Regions from separate parts of the Homo sapiens genome. Here region 2 is linked to region 1. The links are contacts of gene promoters, found by promoter capture Hi-C in blood cells and fetal thymus (Javierre and others, 2016). All regions are on one chromosome and are shown on one strand. Each heading gives the region's core, a stretch centred on a gene start or on the middle of the fragment in contact. The rest is flanking DNA. Distances are from core to core; before and after follow the strand shown. Region 1 holds the start of PRR16 (proline rich 16). Region 2 holds the start of LOC124900192.

Region 1 (6,336 bases), core at 1,473-3,972:
CCTATAAATACTTTGTTCTCAAAATATTTTCATTCATATTCTATGAATAGCCGATGTTTTGGGATTTGGCCATTGTAGGTACATTTTCTTGTGCAAATCTAGGATGATGATACCCACACAAAAGTAATTAACAATCACATCACATTATTTATGTCATAAATTTCAGTTTCATGGTGAGATTTTTACTCAAACAGATCCTTAAGACAAACAAATCTTCCAAAATGTTGAGTCAAAATTGTATCTCTAGATCTGTCAGATAGTTTCATCTACTGGGTTGTACATTATCTCTGCTTTTTATTCCTCTTATAAACAACCTTTTTTTTAACCTTAAAAAATCTTCAGTAATGAAGACACAGAAAGTGGTATCAACAGATTTCCTGACTTACATTTTTGTGATTCTAACCAATAACCACAGGGAGGTTGAAGATTTCACTACTTAATCTCTAAATGTCCATAAATAATGATGCAAAGCAAAACCAGGACCATGTGCAGTTTCTTGTCATTTATTCTGTGCAAAAAAAGTGAGTGGACTGACATTAAAACATAAGGAAGTATGGCTCACAGATGCAGAATTCTGTTTAACTACCTTTCTTTTAGTCTCAGCCTCATGAAAACAGTAAATACGTTTCTGTGCCGCTGTAGGTTTTCCACATCGCCCATAGAAACCTCACCAACTATTAAGCACAATTCTGCCGAAAGGAACATGCCCAATTTCATTTTTTAAAACGCCATGTTTCAGATGAAAACACAGTCTACCAAAGATGTCATATAAAAGAATAACAAAGAAAGGGACAGCATTTTTAGAATTGAATTTCAATGCATAACCCCACCATCTGTCAACCAGTTGTGAAGCAATAATCCTACAGAAACCCTGAAAACACGAACAAGTTTTATCCCTGAATCTATGTATACTAACAGCCACTCTCAGGACCTCAGTACTAATTATGTTCTGTCTGTGGAGTAACCTACAGGAACGACATTTACCACTGGCAAACTTAACCCTGGTGACGAATGGCCCATTTTAACAGACTTGCATTAGGTAACAAATGCAGAGTTCAGTTCATAGAGGTAACGGGGGAAGGGGAGGAAGACGAGGGGGCTCTTGAAATTTGGTTTGGAAATTGAATACAGGAGGTTAATCTCTAGAGGCCAGTCATCCAAACAACCCTCAGTCTCCTCCCCGTTGGCTTCAGAAACAGGATTACAATTTTGGACCTAGACTACGCCCCACCCCTTTTCCCGCTGCAGCCACCGCCACCTTCGAAGTTCTAGTCTTAGCTCTCACGCAGCGGAGCTGCGGACTCCCTCACCGAGAACCGCACCAGGACCCCATTCAGTAGTGAGCGGCGCGCTGGGACTCTGCTACCAGCTCCGCGACGCCGCCGGCAGCCAGCCTGGCTCGGGAGACCCCACCCCTCCCAGCCCGGCCCCCGCCCCCGCCCGGAGCCGCCGCCTGAGTTACGCAGCCTCAGCCCTGACACCTTCTCTGCTTCTTTCCATCTGGATCACCTGGGGCTAGGGGCGGGCGGGAGTAGGGCTGAACCGAAGTGGGATAGGAAAAGCGGGGAAGAACCGAAGCAGTCCCAGCTGCAGAGAGCCAGGACGCCAATGGCAAGACCCCGGCCACACATACACTCTCCTGCGCGTCCTGCTTCTCGGGTTCAATGCCAAGTGGCGACAGGGTGGAAGGAAGGAAGCAGAGGTAGGGTGGCGGGAAGGCCCAGAGTTACTGGTAACGACGTTCGGAGGAGAGCAGGGGATGCTTCAGAAACTGAGAAAGTGAGAAAGTCCCAGACCCCCTCCTTAGCCCCAAGGCTGCCAGCAGCCCGGGTCGCCTTCCCTACAGCGAGGCTCGAGAGACAGGGAGGGTAGTCTGAGCCAAGCTTCCTCCAGGCTGCCCTCCCTGATCTGGCCCAGGGCCCAGAACCCGGCCCCTCTTCAGCCCTGACTTGGGGAGGCTGACAGATAGGCAGCGGACTTGCCAAAGGACTCTGGGGAAGCAATAGGGCAGGAGAGGAGCATCTTGCACGCTCCAGCCGGGCTGCTCACGACTTCCTCTGCCGACACACCCCCAGCTAACCCTCTCCCCCGTCGTCACACACACAGATTCAGAGACACGCGTGCGTTCATCCCTCCCACCAGCCCAGGTCCATCGATTAAAACACTAGTTGATTTCTTCCTGATTAAAAAAAAAAATTAAAAAGTGCAACAACAACTCCTCTCAGGACTCCAGGAGCAAAGAAAGTCCGTCTGCAGGCGCCTTTTCTGTAGTTTCCCAGGAGTTTGGAAATCTGGCTGTCCCTGCTGAAAATCGGAAAGGGGACCCCGGAGGGGTCGAAGGGTGCCGAACTCCCTCCCCACCCCTGCGCCTCTCACCTCCTTAAGTTCCTTGGCCACGTCCTTCAGGTCGCCCAGGACTAATTCCAAATCCTCCACGATGATCTTGATCTGTTCCTTCACCTTGGTTTTGGAGGCTGCCGGCGGTCCCTCGGCTGGACAGGACGAGGAGGGGTTCCCCTTGGACTTGGCTGACATTCTTTGGGGGCAAGCGAGGCAGGTCAGGACAGGCGGGCGAGCGGAGGCTGCTGCGTGCCCCCGTCCCTGGCGCTGCTACGGCCGCTGCCGCCCCGGTCCCCCCACATCTTGGGCGCTCCCTGGGCAGCGGCGAGTGGCTGCGCTCCGCGCTCGGCCGGGCGGCCGCACAGTGGTGCTGCCATCAACTCCCGAGACGCGGCGCTCGGCTCGGGGCTGCAGACGGGCGAGCAGCGCGCCTGCGCCTCCTCCCGCCGCCGCCCGGCGCTCTCGCGCACACGCGCTCGCTCCCCGCCCGCGGAGAGGGGCGCCGTGCTGCCGCGCCAGGGTTGACGCTTGCAGTCCCCTCGACGTTGCCCTTCGAGATATCTCCCAGATGCCACCTTGGCATCAAGGTGGGGGAGACAAGTCCGTGTCCTGCCCGCCCCCTCCTCTTGGTTCTGAAATGTCCCCATCATCTCAGCCTGCTTGCTGTATGTCATCTCACAACTAGCCTGGATTCTTTCTGCTTCACTTGCTAGCAGGGACCTGGATCAATTCAGAAAGAACCACAGTGGGATCAGGAGTTGGAGACAGTCTGTAAAGTGGCCCTACAGATTTATCCAAACCCAAATGATGTCCAGAGGCCTTTAATCAATCTCTTGGTGACCTGCGAGTTAAGCAGACTTCTTAACTTCTGCAAGAAAAAAGGGGGGGGGGGGTGCACATAACAGCTAATGGTCATCTATTGAAACCATGAAATTCAACCAGTGTTCTTGAAAGAGGTACCCTAATCCTGCTAATTCCACAAAGCTAATACCGGATTTATTAATTTGAAGTCCCCACACCCCAAATCCTCTCTGATTGTCTCAGTCATCTTGGCTGTATGTCTTATTTGGCCCAACTCTTTTTTTTTTTTTTAACTGTCCTTCCTCTTTTTGTGACCTATGCTGATTTACATTTTGAGTGGAGTGGGGGAGACATCGTATTTGGACCTCGTGAAGGAGCTGAGTAAGAGATTGCCTCCAACTTCTCTTTCATCATTTTTTAAACCTCCATTTCAACTCTTTTGCTACTAAACAAATAGGAAACAACTTTCTGACTGTTCTGTCAAAAAGACCCAAGAAGGGAAGTTAATAGGAAGCCTTCGGTTCACTCTCAGTAGGTGTCTACAATTCTCATTAGCTAGAATTTTAACTTCCTTAGTTGTAAACCCATGGGCTATTAGCTACTGACCCAGCAGGCTGGCTCTACTTTATTTTCTTCACTGCACACTCCTCCAGATCATTCTTTTAATAGGCTTCCCCTTTTCGTCGTGCCTTAGCAAGGCTCTCTGTTTCTTGCTTCTCACACTCTGGGTAGCTCCACTGTGCTACACATAAAGAAAAGCTTGGCAGCTCTCCTCTTCCCAGTTCTGTAGGCTCTTAATCAATCACTCTCTTAATCCTGGACAATTCATCTTTACAAAACCTTTGGAAGTCATATGTGGAATATAGAGGAAGAAAGAGAACAGAAGAAAAAATTGAAATTTGAAAGTGGTGTCAAAAGAAAACCATTGAAAACTGCATTGAAAAATCAGGGGAAGAAATGAGAAAAGGTGAAAAGCAGATGCTGCTGGAAAGACTTAAGAAGAGATTATAAGAACAAGTCTGCAGCATGCAAACTGGAGAAAAGAAAAAGAGAAGAAATGATTAAAAGTGTGAAATAAGTAATATGCTTGAGTTCTCTGAGGTAGGGAGAATTAGATTTTTAAAACATCCTTTTTCTCCTCAAATTCTTTATTTTATAAAAAATATAACATTAAAATAATTATATCAGGTTTACAGACTCCCCAAAATTGTCAAAACTAGCAAAAGCTAATGGTAGGGGAAAAGAGAAAGTACTATTCTTCTAGATTGGAATTATTTTTGACTCTTAATAGTAGGCAAGTGTGTAAGAAAGCCGCCAAACTCAAAGTTAAGTGACTTTAGACAAGGATATGGGAGAGGAGGAAAGGAAATTGTGATTTCCCTCACAGTGACAAAATAATCCTCCCACAATATAAGAAGATGTCCATGCTACTCTGAATCTCATTCACTAAAGATTAAAAAAAAAAAAACAAAACAGGCTAGGCACAGTGGCTCATGCCTGTAATCCCAGCACTCTGGGAGGCCGAGATGGGTGGATCACAAGGTCAGGAGTTCAAGACCACCCTGGCCAAGATGGCAAAACCCCATCTCTATTAAAAATACAAAAATTAGCTGGGCATGGTGGCAGGAGCCTGTAATCCCAGCTACTCAGGAGGCTGAGGCAGAGAATTGCTTGAACCCGGGAGGTGGAGCTTGCAGTGAGCTGAGATCGTGCCAGTGCACTCCAGTCTGGGTGACAGAGCGAGATTCCGTCACAAAAACAAAACAAAAAAAACTGTTCTCTTCTGATACTCTGATATCCACTGCTGCTACTGAAACAAATAATTCTGACTTAAAATCAAATCATAATTATTGCTTAGAAACACACCACCCACACCCATATCACAGTTCACTCTGAAATAATCACTATCATCTATCTATCTATGTCTTTATACAATATAGAGTTAACTGAATAGGGAAAAGTTAAAATTGGCTTCCAGGCCCAAACTGAGAAAGCTGGTAGGATTGCAGCAGTGGTGTCTGTCCCTATCTTCTAGTCATTAAGGATCACTTAAAGCAAATCTCCATAAAATATGTCTAAAGAAGAAACTTTTATAAAGGGAATTATAAATATTGAGGAGAAGAAGACAGAATAAAAAGGGCCCATGAATATAAATCAAGTGTATTTACTTCCTATTTTTGTATTACCCTATGGAAAAATCTTTCATTCCTTTGGGTAATCCTAGACTCTCTCAGAGATCAGTATATAGGATGTTTTAGACTCCAGTTATAGAGACCAAACAGCAAAAGTGACACCTAATAAAATTTCTGGTAAATCTTTCTGTAAGTTCGTTAATGTACTAGTGCTAGCTGCAAATGTACACAACCAAACCACATTACTTATAAACTTAGACAGGATAATACATTTCTAAATAAAGGAGAGTCTTACTCATTTATAGAAGTGATTGCAAACCCAGGATTTTATTCTCCCTGTCTCTCTATTCATCATTTTCTGAGTTTTGTAACAGGAAGAATTGGATAATTACAGGAGATCATCTAGGTTTTGTTTCTTTAGTTACAAGCCTTTATCAGTATTCTCATGTGTATGCGTGTGTGTGTGTGTGTGTGTGTGTGTGTGTATGTGTAATCCACTGCAGTTGATCCCTAGTAATTAACCCACAGGAAAAAACTCTGTGACACTGACATAATTTTAAATTCACAAAAAGCATAAGAATATTCCCAAAATATTTTGTCTCACAGTTCAGCATAGCTGGGGAGGCCTTAGGAATCTTACAATCATGGGGGAAGGTGAAGGGGAAGCAAGGCACCTTCTTCACAAGGTAGCAGGAAGGAGAAGTGCGGAGTGAAGGGGGAAAAGCCCCTTATAAAACCATTAGATCTCATGAGGACTCACTCACTGTCATGAGAACAGCATGGGGGAAACTGCCCCCATGATTCAATTACCTCCACCTGGTCTCTTCTTTGACGCGTGGGAATTATGGGGATTACAAATCAAGACGAGATTTGGGTGGAGACACTAAGCCTAACCATATCAATGATATAGTTATGAAAAATTAGAAACGTTTTCCATACATATATTTACTATTAAACATATTTTATATGTCCAGGCAGTGGTTGAGAAAGCCTAGTACCCATCAGAACTTCTTTAAAAAAAAGATTGCTATACTCCCTGCCCCAAGGTTTGTAGTTCAGTATG
Region 2 (6,336 bases), core at 1,636-4,135, 3.0 Mb after region 1:
GATGGGGACAAGAATTGGCTATGTTAATTATAATATATCTACTCAATGAAAATGTGACATAGCTATAGAAATAATGAGAATTCTCCTAAGATATCCAGGATGTATGATTGATGAAAGAAAAATCTAAGTTAACACAGCTTTTACGTTAAGAAACCTCAGTGCTTACAAAGAAGGTAGAAAATAAAAATATTTATTTTTAGTCATTTTTATATAGACAAACTTTGGAAGTGCTGTAAGAAGCTGAAAACAGTTGTTCCCCTGTTTGAGTGATGAAACTAAAGAGACAAGAAAGAGGGAGGGGAGAAAGATATGAATATACTGCTTTTTATAGCTTCAATTTCTTGAACCATGCAAATAAATTTCTGATTCAAAAAATTAAAATTTAATTAAGAAAGAAATTGTGGAGAAAAACAAGAAAATAAAAAAAGTTTACCAGTGTCTGGATTCATCACAAAATAACACTCTCAGATTTATAGCAGAAAAAAAAAAAAACCTCATTCATTAATTCATCAAACAGATGTTGATTGAATTACTTCCATGATTTAAGATGCTAGAGATGCCAGATAATGATTCTCCTGAAGCTTCTATTATTTCCGTGAAATAGAAAATAAACAACTGACAAGTTAAAGAAAGAAAAACAATAAGTGTTATTACTAAAACAAAATAGGATGATACTATATAGATAGTGTCTTGGGAGCTTTTTTTTTTTTTTTTTTTTTGCTGAGTGCTCTGAGAAAGTCTCTTTCAAAATTAAAATTGACGGAGGTGATATTTGAACTGTGATTTGAGTGACAAAAAGGAGGCAGTCGTACACATATCAAAAAGACAAGCATTTTATGCAGAGTCCAGCAAGAGTAAAGGCTTGGGGTAAGAACAAATTTTTCATGCTTTATGGACAGAACAAAGTGCCATGTGAGTACAGAGAAATGAACAAGAACTAAAATTGCATGAATTAAGAGGTAAGTGTAGCTTCATAATGTGTAGCTATCTAGACCTTGGATGGCCAGGGCAAGAGATTTGGATTGCTTTCTACATGGGGTGAGAAGACATTGGAAAGTTTTACACAGAAGGATCATGTGATTTGATCTATGGAAGTAAAAGGGTTGACTCCGCTATCTGCTTGCATATTTTAGGGGACAAGAGTTGAAGCAGGGTGGCCAGATTGTCATTCTTTTGGTATCCTAGGTAGACAATGATGGTGTTTCAGCTAGTATGGAGTTGGGGAAAAATGGAAGTAATATGAAAGTCTTTATTGACGATTAGAGGTGAAGTTGAGGGAAAGAATGAAATCAAACCAATGCTAGATTTTGACTTACAAAAATAGGTATAGACCTATTTTCTAAGATGAGATAGAGTGGGGAGAAACAGGTTTAGAGAACGGAATCAAAAATTCTACTTTAGATATCTTAAGTTTGAGATAAACGTATAAGTAGAGACGAAGAGTAGCTGGTTGGACATGTGTGTGAAACTCAGGGGAGAAGTAGAGTCAGGGCATAAAAATATAAAAATCATCTGCATATAAATGATACTTAAAGCCAAAGGGGTGAGATGCAAGTGAAATCACCTATAAATGACAACAGATATAGAAGAGATGATAAATACAGAACTCATCCAAGGGCATGCCAATCTCTAGCAGTGAGGAAGAGCAGAGATTAAAAAATAGAAAGAAATTATTGACAGGATAACATGAACATATATAAAATAATAAAAATTTCATACAAACGAAAGCGCCTAAGAAAAAAATAATGTTAGGAAAACATTTGCATCAGACAGGATTTCCAAAGTGTTTATATTGTGATTATTACAGTATTTTTAGAGTCTTCCTTTTCATATTAAATAAGGCAAAGGATATGAACAAACAGTTTATATAAGCAGTGATTATAAAAACATGGCAAACGTGCATTCTGTCCATTATTGAAGAAATAAAAAAATAAATTTTTTTTTTCAGGACACACTGTATTCTTCTTCTATGGATAAAACAATTGCTTAAATAAAAACATTCAAAGTTTGTGAGACTGTAGTGAAACTAATACAGTTGAACACCGCTGTCTGCTTTATAAGAAACAATATGTAGTAAGAGATAAAATGTTTATCCAATTTGAGTCAGTAATTCCACCTTTGGGAATATATTTCCTAAAGTCATAATTCCACAGAAGAGGACTACTTATATGCAGAACTAGATTTTTATTGCAATAAATTTTATCTTTAAGAAACTGAAGAAAATCAATACAACCACAAATATAGAAGTGATCAAATCAAGCATAATCTACTTAGGCTAGATGAATATTTTAAAACTACTAAAAATTGCCATTAAAAGTCATATATCAAAACTCATGAAAATGCGTATAACATAAATGGATTATTTTTAAAGAAGATTAAATGACATTTGTGTTGTTTAGTCTGTCCCATTCTTACGACCAATTGACAACATTTTCTCTTTTTTTTACTTTCACATTTCTAAAATGTAAAATCCCAATGGACTTGCTTTCTACTCCATCCCCCAGTATAATTTTATCCAATTGCTTATTTTGTTGGCATGAACTTTAGGGATGTAACTGTGAGTTAGCAATGACATAACTACTGATGGATCTTTTGGGATAGGCCTTATTCAGAAATCAAGATGTGGAGACCTCATGAGGATCCAATAAGTCAGAGGTGGAGGGGGTCAGCCACAGATAAGCTGTAGAGTGGAGCTGAAACTGACAACAGGGACATGTTTATTTATAACAGAAGCACGTGGAAGTATGAAAACAAGATAGGTTTACGTTTTAGTCCAGAATCCTAAAATATGAATAGTCTGAAAATGGAAGAAAAAGATTTTAATGCATGCCCCGATGCATAATAATGGGCTAAATATAGAATTCTTAGAGAAGATGCATTGATCTGAATAGTGTTTGGTTGGTGGTTTCAACAGAAAGAACTAAAACATCTGTTTTTCCACTTAAAGCGTTTTTGGACATTCAAAGAAAGTCACTTAAAACTGTAACACTAGCCTCCTGGAAATCAAAACTTATGTTGAAGAAAATCATTTTAATGAAAAATGTAAGACAATGTTGTGAGCAGGTTAAGGGAACATTTCACTTCAGGGGCTTTTTCAAAACATCCCCTAAATTACAGAACAAAAGATAGCCTTGTCTCAGAAGTCTGTTTCTCCTGGGCTGGCGATGCACCTCTAAGAGTAATTTAGGCACCTAAGGAAGGACTTTTCAGACAAGAGAGGAATAAATGACCATTCGCATCTTACAGAAGGATCACCAAGAGCATTAGCATGTCCCTGTAAGTGCACCTCTGTTTTCTGGGGCATTGATCACATCGAAACTTGATTTCTCTTAAGATCCACTGAATCCCAAAAAGAAATTGAGGTGTATACTTTTCATTATCCCATTTGCAAAGTGAATGATTTTTTTTTTTAATCCAAAAAAGCAGCATCAAAATCAGGCCACTAAGAAGAAAGGTAAATCTGGTGCTGAAGGAATATGCTCCTTATTCCTCAATGGCGTACGGAAGTTTATGATTCTGTTGAAAAAGTCATAACTCCGCTTCATTCTCTTGAGATGCAGAGTAAAGGGAGAAAATAGTGTTATTAATTTTATCAAAATTCTGCCCTCTCAGGATGGCTGAGTTGAGATGTCAGATGCCAGTTCTCCTCAGAAAGAACCAAAGTTACAGATGAATAATCGTAAGTTGAATAGAAGATTAAGGAGAGAGTGCCAGAACCTATTGGAGAACTCACAGAAAGAAGCTAGGGCACAGAAAAAAGAAGGAAGAGTGTGGCAGAGATTGAACCCCAAGGAACTTGGAGTCTGGTGGAAAGGGTAGGTGCGGTGTTTTGCGTTCCACTCACAGCTGTGGCAGACTGGGTTTCCGAGCTGTAGGAGAGCTCCTTTGCTGGCCCTAGCCCAAGGACCGGTGTGGGTGGTGATTTGTTAATTTACTGAGGGCATTGCACCAGGCTACCAGCTTGTGTAAAGTTGCTCACCCTCTCCCCAGACCTGAGCTGCAGTGGTAAGCGCCATATTGAGTGTGCATCATTGTGGTCCTCTGTCCTGCCCAGAAAATCTCAGCCTTCGTGTCTCCACATCACCAGATCCCCCGCAGACATTCCCTAGCACCTGCTTAGATTGCAGCAGCCACACATGGGGCCAGATGTACCTAAGGTAGCTGCAGAATTCCCGGTGGTCTGAACCTCAGGGTATGCTGCCCCTAGGGGAAGGGAGAGTGCAGCGCGCCTAGGGAGTGCCCCATGGGACAAACGAAGCCAGAGCGTATGCTCTCCCGTGCCCAAGAGTTTCCTGCTTGGGGACTGAGGGTGACAGCACCCCTTCCAGCAGAGAAATGGGCACCATGCTCAGTGCTCTGGGGGGAAGTGTTTTTTAGCCCCAGTGGTCAGGCAGCCCCAGTGCTCAGGCACAGTAGTAGAGAGGAGGATTTCTCCTTCCCGACTGCCCACTGCTGCAGACAAAGCCGTGGATGCCTGTGGACAGCCAATACAGGACTATCAGGAGCAGCTACAATGATATTGGTGGTGTGCCTACCTGCCGAGTCCGACCTTCTTGCACCATAGGCAGAACCCCTTCCTCTCTCCACACTGAGTGGCAGCGTCCTCGCAGTGGAGAACAGATGACCAGCAAAGCTGTCTGTTTTCGGCTGAGGGAAGAGACTCCTCCCTGAAACCATGGTACAGGTGTTTTCTGTGGCTCTCAGCTTCATTGCAGCTTGAAGATAGACGGCAGTGTCTGTTTGAACTGAGACACATGAGACCCGGGACAGGAGTATGATAGGGAAACGTTCCTGCCTATCCAGGATGTGAAGCTGGCGCAACCGCCTACCACCTCTGGAGAGACCTCGGCACATTTCACCAGTTTTCCCTGCTACCCTCATCAGCACTGGTGCTGCTGCTTGTCACTGGAGTACCTGAGGCTGAGACTGGCTGTCCAGCTCCGCCCAGCTTTGACCCCTGCTCCAGGGCTGAGCAGGTAACTCACGGCACCGGACATTCCACCGACCAGTCCATCCCTTCAGGTAACAGCGAGCTCCTCCTAGAAAATAAAGATTAAGCCTATACTTACCTGTTTCTGCCACAGCCAGTTCTTACTTACTAGTGCCACCTACTGGCCGGGAGGTTGAACTGCACAACCCGATACAAAATCTGACTCCAGAGCACAGCGCATGGAAATGAGATAAGCTTCTTGAGGCCTCCACCTGCCTGTCTCTATAGGAGACTGAGCATTTACTCACGTGCCCAGTATGTCACTACTACAACCACCATTTGAGAAATTCACCACACCAAGGAAAAGACCTTGCCCGCATGATTCAGTTACCTCCTACTGGGTCCCTCCCATGACACGTGGGAATTATGGGAGCTACATTTCAAGATGAGACATGGGTGGGGACACAGCCAAGCCATATCAGGACTTAAAAGTAAGACCTCAATCTATAAAAATTCTAGAAGAAAACCTAAGAAAAACTCTTCTGGACATTGGCCTGGGCAAATAATTTATGACTAAGACCTCAAAAGCAAATGCAACAAAAACAAGAAAAGACAAATGGGACTTAATTAAACTGAAAAGCTTCTGCACAGCAAAATAAATACTCAACACTGTAAACAGACAACCTACAGAGTGGGAGAAAGAATTTGCAAACTATGCATCCCACAAAAGGCTAATATCAGAAATGTACAAGTAACTTAAACAATAAAAAAACTCCATTAAGAAGTGAGCAAAGGAAATTAACAGACACTTTCTAAAAGAAGACATACAAGCAGCCAACAGACATGAAAAAAATGCTCAACATCACTAACCATCAGAGAAATGCAAATTAAAACCACACTGAGATATCATCTCACACTAATCAGAATGGCTTTTATTAAAAAGTCAAAAAATAGCAGATGTTGGAGAGGATGCAGAGAAAAGGGAATGCTTTACACAATGTTGGTATGAATGTAAATTATTACAACCTCTACGAAAAACAGTGTAGAAACTTCCCAAATAAGTAATATTTGAACTATCCTTAAATCCAACAATCCCACTATTGGTTATCTGCCCAAAGGAAAAGAGCTTAATATATCAAAAAGATACCTGCACTTCTATGTTTTTCAGAGCACTGTCCACATTAGCCAAGATGTGAAATTGACCTAAGTGTCCATTGACAGATTATTGGATAGAGAAACTGTGGTATATACATACCATAGAATACTACTCCGCCATACAAAATAATGAAATTACATCCTTTGTTGCAACATGGATGGAACCGAAGCCTATTATCTTAAGTGAAATAACTCAGAAACAAAAAGTTAAATACCACATGCTCTCGCTTATAAATAAGAGCTAAACGACG

Evidence for each region. The method cuts DNA at HindIII sites, captures the fragments that hold promoters and counts their contacts. A CHiCAGO score of 5 or more calls a contact.
Region 2: a contact is called between a fragment that was not itself captured here and the fragment with the promoter of PRR16 in region 1, in 1 of 17 cell types (non-activated CD4 T cells). The highest score is 6.0, in non-activated CD4 T cells.

The regions. Positions count from the first base shown.
Region 1 is chr5:120,460,686-120,467,021 of GRCh38, reverse strand. It overlaps PRR16 (proline rich 16), which reads right to left and starts at 2,722. Exons shown (of 2, transcript NM_001300783.2): 1 at 2,377-2,722. The coding sequence starts at 2,535. RefSeq lists an enhancer at 1,847-2,348 and a silencer at 2,754-2,803. The HindIII fragment of the contact is 2,017 bases long and covers 1,886-3,902 here.
Region 2 is chr5:117,453,654-117,459,989 of GRCh38, reverse strand. It overlaps LOC124900192, which reads right to left and starts at 5,041. Exons shown (of 2, transcript XM_047417986.1): 1 at 4,536-5,041. The coding sequence starts at 4,881. All of the region lies in intron 2 of LINC00992 (long intergenic non-protein coding RNA 992), which reads right to left. RefSeq lists an enhancer at 5,213-5,382. The HindIII fragment of the contact is 4,604 bases long and covers 584-5,187 here.